2 separate regions of the Homo sapiens genome follow, and region 2 is linked to region 1. The links are contacts of gene promoters, found by promoter capture Hi-C in blood cells and fetal thymus (Javierre and others, 2016). All regions are on one chromosome and are shown on one strand. The core of a region is centred on a gene start or on the middle of the fragment in contact, and the rest is flanking DNA. Distances in the headings are between cores, read along the strand shown.

Region 1 (4,649 bases), core at 674-3,173:
TAGAAACACTTTGAATATAAATATAAATACTTTTTAAAGAATTTATGGAAGAACAGACTTCTTTCTTGGCCTATGGTTGAAGATTAAATTAAAGAAACCTAAATGCTCATGTTTTTAGTCAATAAGACTTTGATCTAAACTTTTAAAGCTGCTTCTGACCAAACGTTTTTATTTGACTACTTCTCATCTTCAAACTCATGCACAGTATAAGTCATTCTTGCCATCTAACATGGGTCTAATATGGTTCATGATTTGCATTAACTTTGAGAGATTTTAGCTACCTAATAAGGAAAAAAATAGTAGTTAGAACCTTGTGCATCTTTGAGTTATCACCTACCCAATATTATCAAAAAGTACTACAAGATAGCCCTTGTGATATACAGGGATGGAGAATAACAGTGAACAATGAAAACTACTTACAATTTCAGAGAAGAACAGGATAGATCTTAGGGCCAACAAGTTTAAGATGTCTTTTACCTCTTTATATGTTACTCATTTTATCACATCCAACTGGAATTATTCTTGCACTTCCTATTATTGAAAGCTTCTAGAAATTTGCAAGAAGCAGATAGACCTAATAATTAATCTGATCATCAGTCCCCCCCCAAAAAAATGCTTGAGTCATAAATAGCAGCGAAATCCATTGATTGTAAATAAAGTAGAAGGGAGACATGACTGAGCCATTTCCACCAAGCAAGATAATTAAAGTCAGAGATGCTGTTTCCTGCTTCCCTGGTATAAACAATGAAGCTGCTCTACTGGCCTCTCCACAGCCTGGATGTCCCAAAACCACCTCCCTCTTCTTTCCTTCCACATTCTCTAAAGAGGATTCTGGGTCATAAAGGAAGGAAAATTGGTGTAACTTTTTTCCTGAAACGACTTCAGCTTCCTCTGTGTTTGTATTTGTGATATCTTATTATAAGACGAGCTAACATCTATTATTAATTGATGCACTAATTAAAGCCATACTTGCAGTTTCCATTAGCTTATTCCCTAAATTCTCCAGAGTTGCCTGTCTGGTTTTAATCAAAACCAAATGGTAGTCCAAATTCCCAACCTGGAGCAGCTAGGAGGAAGTCATTCAAGGGAGGCACAAGAAAGCAGAAAAGATAAACAGATGATAGTTCACAAAATTTGTGACGGACGAAGGATGCAGATACCATGAGCGGCTTTAGAGATGTGATTCAGGAACGCTGCCATGCTAGATGGAAGCAGTTGTAAGTGTTTAATGTCAGCAAGACTCTAATACGATCAAGATGGAGCCTGTCTTCTGCTCCAGCACTGGATTTTTGTAACTGGAGGATTCTGACTAGAGGTAATGCGCTGCTGCATTTGCCATAACACGAACTATTTTAATTCTGTGAAGGATTCTTGTGATCAGAGAGATCTGGAAGAAATCGTTCTATTAACTGGATGCTTGGGATTTTACTTACAGATGGTCTCAGGGACAGAATGAAAAGCTGCAGCATTTCCAATTTTAAGTCATGTTCAAAAAAGGTTTTGCCATTTAGAAGAATTATGGTATTAAGGCTAAATTCATCTTGCTCTCTTAAAAGATCTTTTGAAATGAGAGCAAGCACAGGCATTTTGATTAAGCTGTGCATATACATTTAATATAGTGGAAAGGTTGTGGATAGAGAGAAAACTACGTTTTCTTTCTTTCTTTCTTTCTTTTTTCATAAGCAGTGTGGGATAGAAAAAGCTCTAGGACTTTATGACTCTACAGCTAATCACCTCAAGAGCTTTGACAAAACTCACTTGAGTTCTGTGTAAAATCAGAACTCCTAAAACGCCCAGGCGGCTGGGCTCTCCCCTCCTCCCCTCTCTTCGTACAGCCTTTCTAGCATGCACACTCCTCAGAGGCAGGAAATACTTTCCAGGCAATCTGGGCCTGGTTGTGGAGGCCCCTTTTGCAAAACCTCAGTCTGAATTTAGTAGACAGAAGTCACTAGGAATGCCTTGACAGGATCCTGCCTTAGCTAAGGCTCCCTCCAGCTGCAGAGGGTGTTTTTGTTAGACTCACACACTGCGTGAAACTGCTCAGAATAGAGCCATGATCTCAACCACGAAATGGGAACTTAGATTTTGGAGAAACTAACGGGGACGGACTTCTTTCCTAGCCTGAGTGTTGAGCAGTGTCATGCCTTGGCGTTTCAGCTCCTCGTTGTCTAGGTAAGACGCTATGGACTATCTTTATGCTTTGAGGCGGTCTTTGAAGAGGCAGAAAGATTGAGATAAATGTTAGCATCTTGCACGGAGTTGGTGACTTCCTAGGTTTTAGAGCAAAGCCATAAAATCAGAAGTGGAAAATGTTTGATAAGTAGAAAATTCTGAGTCAATTCGTTTTAGCAAACTGTCAGTTCTAAAACAGGCTCCATATAGATTTAACTCTTTTCCTCCATAAAGTAAGATTTTATTTTTATCCCTTTTTACGTTTAACTTATTTATTAATTGAGCTGTCGGATCAGTTTTCCTATTTCTTGGCATAACGTGAAACAAATACATTTTCTCACACATCAGTGTGAGGTGTAAATGAATTCCTCCCCTACCTTCCTTTGCCAACAGGGAGAGTAGAAAGCACCCGAGTGACTTGTGCTTAATAATCAGTCTCCAAAGAGTATTTTGTGTCTCATTTAAAACTACGAAGATTGAATTTCTTATTATTTTACCCAAGCCAGTTTCAATCATATGTCAAGCTTCTCCTGTACAGCTTAAAAGGTTCATTTAAAAAAAAAAAGTAAACACGTGAAATTTCAGGAATTATTTCTGTCCTAAATAGTATTTAATCTGAGTTTTGGAAATTTAAATGTCGGAATCGAATTTAGTTTATATTAATTTTCCTGGATTCACTGCTTGCTCCGGTCACATTTTGTGTAATATTTTGAATAACTGAAGTCAATCTCAATGACACTGACACTCATTATAACTCTTTTAAGGCAGCCAGAAATCACTCCAGTCATATGGAAACTGTTTGTGTCCTTACTTATGTAATCGTAAAATTACATTTCCACCTGACTGTAGTCTCTTCAAGGTAATCTTAAATGTTTAAATGTACAATATATTAGAAAAGAAGTTTAGTAATGACCGAAAAAGTGTGGACTTATAATGCATAAGATACTGTTATATTTCTGAATATTTATAATAAAATTCATCATTTTATAGAAATAAAATGGTACATAAAGGGAAGAAATATTCATGTACATTTTCAAATCTATTAGATGAATACAAAATATACTAAGTGAAAGATGGAGAGCTATTTTGACAGTTGGATCATAAGAAATGAAGTAACTGTTTTCATTATAAGTTTTTATATAGTACAAGGTGACCATCTGCTATATTAGCTATTCTCAAATTTTATGCTAGAATAACTTATATTGATAAATTTTAACTATTCACTGACAATTTGTGTTAAAACTTCTTAAATATGAGAAAAAGAATCTACTTTTTATATATGTGGAAGATAAAATACTGACTTATCTAAATTATGATTTAATTAAAATCTCCAAATGGAATTTCAGAGAAGGAAAGAACATAAGAGATGGTCTCCTCTAACAATGGCTTGAGGTTGTCTACAAGAAGCTGAGAAATGGGATTTAAAAGTGACCTGTCCAAGGTCACACCTCTAGCTAATAGAAGAGAGGACAGCAGAACCACAGTGCCCTGATTCATAATTCAGATACCTTTTTATCCCATCATCCTGCCCTCCCATAATAATTATGCATAATGAAGTATGAACATGTCCAGTAGAAGGGTGCTTTGCAGACAGAAATTTGCAGTTCCTCTAATTTAAAAAAAAAAAAAAAAAAAGGTAAAACTGTCACCAATGTTAATTATGTGGGGAAAAAAATCCTAACTTTAAAAAAAAATCAAATCAGTATGCCTTCAATAAACACTTTACAGTAGTAACTTGCTTTATGACTATTTTATTATATTTGATGTTTATGTCAAGAAAATCAATCCATATGCTAATAATTATATTAATTTTAATCTGATGTTTCTTTAAAAATAGGGCTAGAAAACAGCTTTTCTAATTTATATCCTTGTACTCAAATGATCATAATGAAACTGTCCCAACCAATGACTTTCAGAGGCAATTTTACAGCACCACCCCCAGGCATCCTTTCTTCTATCTAGCCTAAATCATTGTTGCTGTAGCTTATTTCAAGTTCTATGTGGGTCTTTTCACTAAATATATAAAAAGCCTAAGTTGACATATAAAAAATATGTTTACATTTCTCCAGCATGTTTGCAATCCCTTAATTGATTTGTATGTCTGCTCTAAGCCTTCTACAAAGTCATTTAATTGTAGAATGCAGAATTTTTACAGTATATAAATAAATGTCTGAACAACGTGGTATAAAATGGGAGCGTGGGCTATTTCATCTGCATCATACTTCATATATGACAATATTTGTTGCTGTGTGTGCTGAAGCAGTATACCTTCTCAGACAAGACCCTTTCTCATAAATGTAACACATTCCATTTCTAATAGCTGCCATTTCCTTAGAGAGAATGTGTCACGATACTTTTTTTTTCCATTTTCATGACCAGATTGAGTTTCCTGATGTTATTACTACTTAAAAGAGACACTATTCAACACTTCCTTTCAATGTCACCACACTCTACATTATTGGAATGAGAAATAAGTG
Region 2 (4,880 bases), core at 1,955-4,454, 470 kb after region 1:
GATTCCATCCTGAAATTAACTTCTAAGAAACTAGTACTTACTGAACTTAGGTACAGTATCACACCGTAAGCACCAATACCTGAAAAAGCTATTAAAATATTTCTCCCATACACAGAGGTTGATTTGTCTTCACAAACTTCCACTAAAACAAGTTATTACAACAGGCTGAGTGTAGAAGCAGAGTGGATATGAGAATCCAGCTGTTTTCTATTAAGCTAAACATTAAAGAGATCTGTAAACTGTAAATGACATCACTCTCCTCACTACATTTTTGTTTTGTTTTGGAAAATACATTTTTCATAAACTGTGTTATTTATATTAACATGTAATACATTACTTTTACTTTTATATGAATAAATAATTTAAGACTTTCTCAGTATTGTTATTTTATTTATTTTATTTTGAGGTGGAGTCTCACTGTCACCCAGGCTAGAGTGTGGTGGCATGATGTCAGCTCACTGCAACCTCACCTCCCAGGTTTAAGCGATTCTCCTGCCTCAGCCTCCCAACTAGGTGGGATTACAAACGTGTACCACCATGCCCAGCTAATTTTTTTAGTTTTAGTAGAGATAGAGTTTCTCCATGTTGGCCAGGCTGGTCTCGAACTCCTGACCTCAAGTGATCTGCCCACCTCGGCTTCCCATAGTGCTGGGGTTACAGGCGTGAGCTACCACGCCCAACCCTGAGTATTATTTGTGAATATAGTAAATATCAATAACCCAGACTTAAAAAGCCATTTGGAATCCTCAATTTTTAAGAAAGTAGGTGGGTTCTGAGACCAAAATATTTGAGAACCTCAGATGTAGATTAGGTCTAAGAGAACTCACCAGTGGCTCCACTGTAAATGAGGCATTTTCTTCTCACTTTTCTCTTTGAGGCCCAAGTCCGCCCAAATTAAACAAAATAGAACAATTAAATGGGGCCGGGCGCGGCGGCTCATGCCTGTAATCCCAACACTTTGGGAGACCGAGACAGATGGATTGTTCGACTCCAGGGGTTCAAGATCAGCCTGGGCAACATGGTGAAACCTCATCTCTACAAAAAATACAAAAATTAGCCATGTGTGGTGGCGTGCCTGTAGTCCCAGCTACTTGGGAGGCTGAGGTGGGAGGACCACCTGAGCCCAGGGAGACTGAGGCTCCTGTGAGCCATGATTCTGCCACTGCATTCCAGCCAGGGTGACAGAAGGAGACCCTGTCTCAGGAAAAAAAAATCTATCTATCTATCTATCTATCTATCTATCTATCTATCTATCTATCTATATCTGAAAGAAATGGCTGATATTTACTGGTGTGTCTTCGTGCCATAGAACATTGACTCTCTTTTTTTTTTCATATGTAGAAAAGAGGCTTTATTAAGAAAAAAATATGGAACGCTTCATGAATTTGCATGTCATTCTTGCACAGGGGCCATGCTGATCTTCTCTGTATCGTTCCAATTTTAGTGTATGTGCTGCTGAAGCGAGCACAGAACTTGACTCTCATTTTCACCTCAGAACTATTCTGGAAGGCAATAGTAATCAATCTCATTTTTATAGAAGAAGGAAGAGGCTCAGAACAGTTAAGTTGCCCAAGTTTACAGAGCTAGTAAGTGGATAATAGCCCCATAGGTTTTCTCAGCACTTCCCATGAGATCAGGATGCATCTGATGATTATTAGAAATAATTAGGTCCAGAATACTTTCACCTAAAGTATAAGCACAATTGAGGTAAAATATGGCTTTGATTTGTTTGAATATCCCCATAACTGCCTTGGTACGGCTACTTGCCTGGGCCAGTGAAGACAATGGCATTACAGAGGTCCCCAAATTTCCTGCAGAATTCTATAAACCAGCTGGGCCTCTCTTTAAACTTCGTGGTATAAGTCCTCCTCCAAAGGAAAAGGATGGTTGGATTTATTTTTTTTTTCTTTTCCGTCTGTTTTTGTTCTGGCATTCTTTTGTGAGTATGGAACTGATTACTAAATACGGTCAAACAGCTTGAGTCGGGCTTCCTGTGTGAATGTGAACAGTGCTGATTTCCAGCCTTGCATTTGATATGTTATCTGTGGCGGCTGTGCCCGACGTTGAAGTTTCAGATGGTTTCCTTCAATTTCCTGTATTGTTATAATGGTGGCTGTGTGTGTACATGTGCACGTGTGGACAGAGAAAGCAGTGGAGACAGAAGAGAGGATGTTTCTCTGTGTTTACTTGGATTTTGTGAAAGGTTTTTAGTTAGATATTGAGAGGGCCACATGTTTCAGTGGAAAGAGCCCTGTTTAGCAAAAATGAAGGTCCTCTCTTGTCTGCCACTAATTGCCTGCGTGGTTTTTGGCAAATATTTAGGCCTTGGGCCCAATTCTGCTTCCTTATAAGGCCGCTTTCAGCTCTGAAATTTTGTAACTCTGGTTTCTACTCAAAGCTTCACTTTCCAACTCCCCACACTTGGCTGTTCTAAAACGTTTGTTTTTCCTCCTGGTTTTACTTTCCAGGCCTTTTTTGTTCTCCTCCACTTTCCATTACTATCCCATAGCCTTTTGGATTTAAGTTCTTATAGAAAAGTTCTTCCTTTCTCAGCTCTTATTTTTCAGCTTCCGTTGTCTCTGAAAAAAATATTACGAATGGTCGACTTTATCTTGGAAAGAAGATCCAGAATGTGTTGGCTTCCTGTTTTGTTGGTGAGATGTCTAGAGCTTGGAGATTGGAGTGTGGGTCAGGATTCCCTACTAAGCCTTATATGAGATAGCTCAGAGCTGCTGGGCTGGCAATCACTTCTCTATCTCTGCTCTATTTTTATTAAACACAATTAACTTTAAATATGCAGGATAGGCTACGCGCGGTGGCTCACGCATGCAATCCCAGCACTTTGGGAGGCCAAGGCGGGCGGATCACAAGGTCAGGAGTTCGAGACTAGCCTGACCAAAGTAAAACCCCGTCTCTACTAAAAATACAAAATTTAGCCGCGTGTGGTGGCACGCTCCTGTAATCCCAGCCACTCAGGAGGCTGAGGCAGGAGAATCGATTGAACCTGGAGGCAGAGGTTGCAGTGAGTTGAGATCCTGCCAGTGCACTCCAGCCTGGGTGACGGAGTGAGACTCCGTCTCTCTCTCTCTCTCTCTCTCTCTCTCTCTCTCTATATATATATATATATATATATTTATATATATATACAATAAAATATAAATGTATATATGCAGGATAATGGCATATCTAATTCATCTGCTTTTATGGCCCAGTATGAACGTTTAAATGGAACCGGGAAATGAAACTTCTCGTTTTTCATCAGCTTCTAGTCCCACGCTGATGGCGCCCCCAGAGCCTCCACAAGTGGGTCTAGTGCCATCTGGTGGTAGGATGCGCTGATGCTTTGCTGCCTGATGGACAGACAACACCGTGCTTAATGAAGAAAACCTGTTGAGTGAAATACACGCAGAAACTTAAACAACGGACTGGTGACATTTGCAGCAGATGACTTAGTAGTCCCAAAATTCAAATTTGTTATTAAACATGCAAATCTGTGAAAGTTACAGAGTCTTTGGGACCATGCAAAGCTAAGATTGATAGGTGTGTGCACTTTAGGCATGAGGCATGTTCAGTTTGTAACTCTGTAGTGAGATGTTTGTGTTCTTAGTATGGAATCCAGATGTTGTCTGCTGGTAATTTATGCTCCTGTGCAAAACATGGGCAAATTGATTAATTTTTATCAATCTCACTTCATCTTGTTCTCATCTGTAAAAGATCATGTCTAAGGACCCTTAAAACGCTTTAAAAACTTTCAAAGAACCTCAAACATTGCAGTATTCTGATTTCCTCTAGTGACTGTATGTGCTTTATGTCCATGCTTTCTTCCACCCTCCAAGAGTTTAATGTTAACAGGAGGTGTGGAAGAAATAGTAAAAATTGTCATTTATTGGATGCTGCTATGTGTTTTGTATTCTCTTAGGTAGTTTAACATTTTTAAAATTCTGGTTTACAAAACTCTGCAAGATAAGTATCACTGAGCTCATTTTACAGATAAGGGGTGTAAAGCTTATCGCACTCTGCTTTCCATGTTTACAAACGAAAAGATAAACGAGAAACAAGGAAGAAATGTGCTAATTGTCTTTATAATTCAACACAACACCACTTACAGTGCATTTACAGCTCAGTGCAATTTGCCACTTTCCAACAATACAAAATGTCAAGTATCTAAGCCACATCATTGTTCTGTCTTCACACACTGATAAAGCAGCTGCCATACTGCAATTGTAGGAACAGTTTTAAAAATGCATTTTCCAGGGAGCCAGGGGGAAACAAATATTTGCCGAGACCAGAGCTGGTGTTTCACAGATCTCTTTTCTGTGAGCTGAGGAATGAGGAGAGGTGGAGTGACAGGCCGTCGAGTGTAATTACCATGTCCCAGATGCTGATGCAAGGATGGCGAGTGGCAGAGGACTATTGGCAGGTGTCTCGGGCATGGCACCACAGCAGCACTCTGTTTCTGTTGACCGGTTTGTTTGGGTCTTCCTTTTAAAAGTTGGGCATCCTTTCCCAAAGAGTGCTCCGTAAGGTGTTCATACATTTTATATGGAAAATAAAGATTTTGAGTGAAATATTATGAGAAACAAGGGGCTGATTACTGTTAAATGGGTTTCTTTGCTCTAGTATAGGACTTCTTGAAACCTTTCAGGTTTCAATGTGTACTTTTAACATAATTTATAGATTAAATGTATTTTATTATATAAATTAAATACAGGTGATATGGTTTGGCTGTGTCCCCACCTAAATTTCATCTTAAATTGTAGTTCTCATAATCCCCATGTGAATCGGGAGGGACCCGGTGGGAAGTAGTTGAACCATGGGGGTGGTTAACCCCATGCTATTCTCATGATAGTGAGTTCTCATGAGATCTGGTGGTTTTATAA

Evidence for each region. The method cuts DNA at HindIII sites, captures the fragments that hold promoters and counts their contacts. A CHiCAGO score of 5 or more calls a contact.
Region 2: a contact is called between a fragment that was not itself captured here and the fragment with the promoter of DLC1 in region 1, in 6 of 17 cell types (megakaryocytes, endothelial precursors, M1 macrophages and 3 more). The highest score is 10.3, in megakaryocytes.

Annotation. Positions count from the first base shown.
Region 1 is chr8:13,512,125-13,516,773 of GRCh38, reverse strand. DLC1 (DLC1 Rho GTPase activating protein) reads left to right here and starts at 1,923. Exons shown (of 18, transcript NM_182643.3): 1 at 1,923-2,172. The HindIII fragment of the contact is 2,152 bases long and covers 547-2,698 here.
Region 2 is chr8:13,040,938-13,045,817 of GRCh38, reverse strand. It overlaps the pseudogene RNU6-842P. Among named protein-coding and RNA genes, the nearest start is that of TRMT9B, 98 kb to the right of the region's middle. RefSeq lists a silencer at 4,401-4,609. The HindIII fragment of the contact is 1,607 bases long and covers 2,401-4,007 here.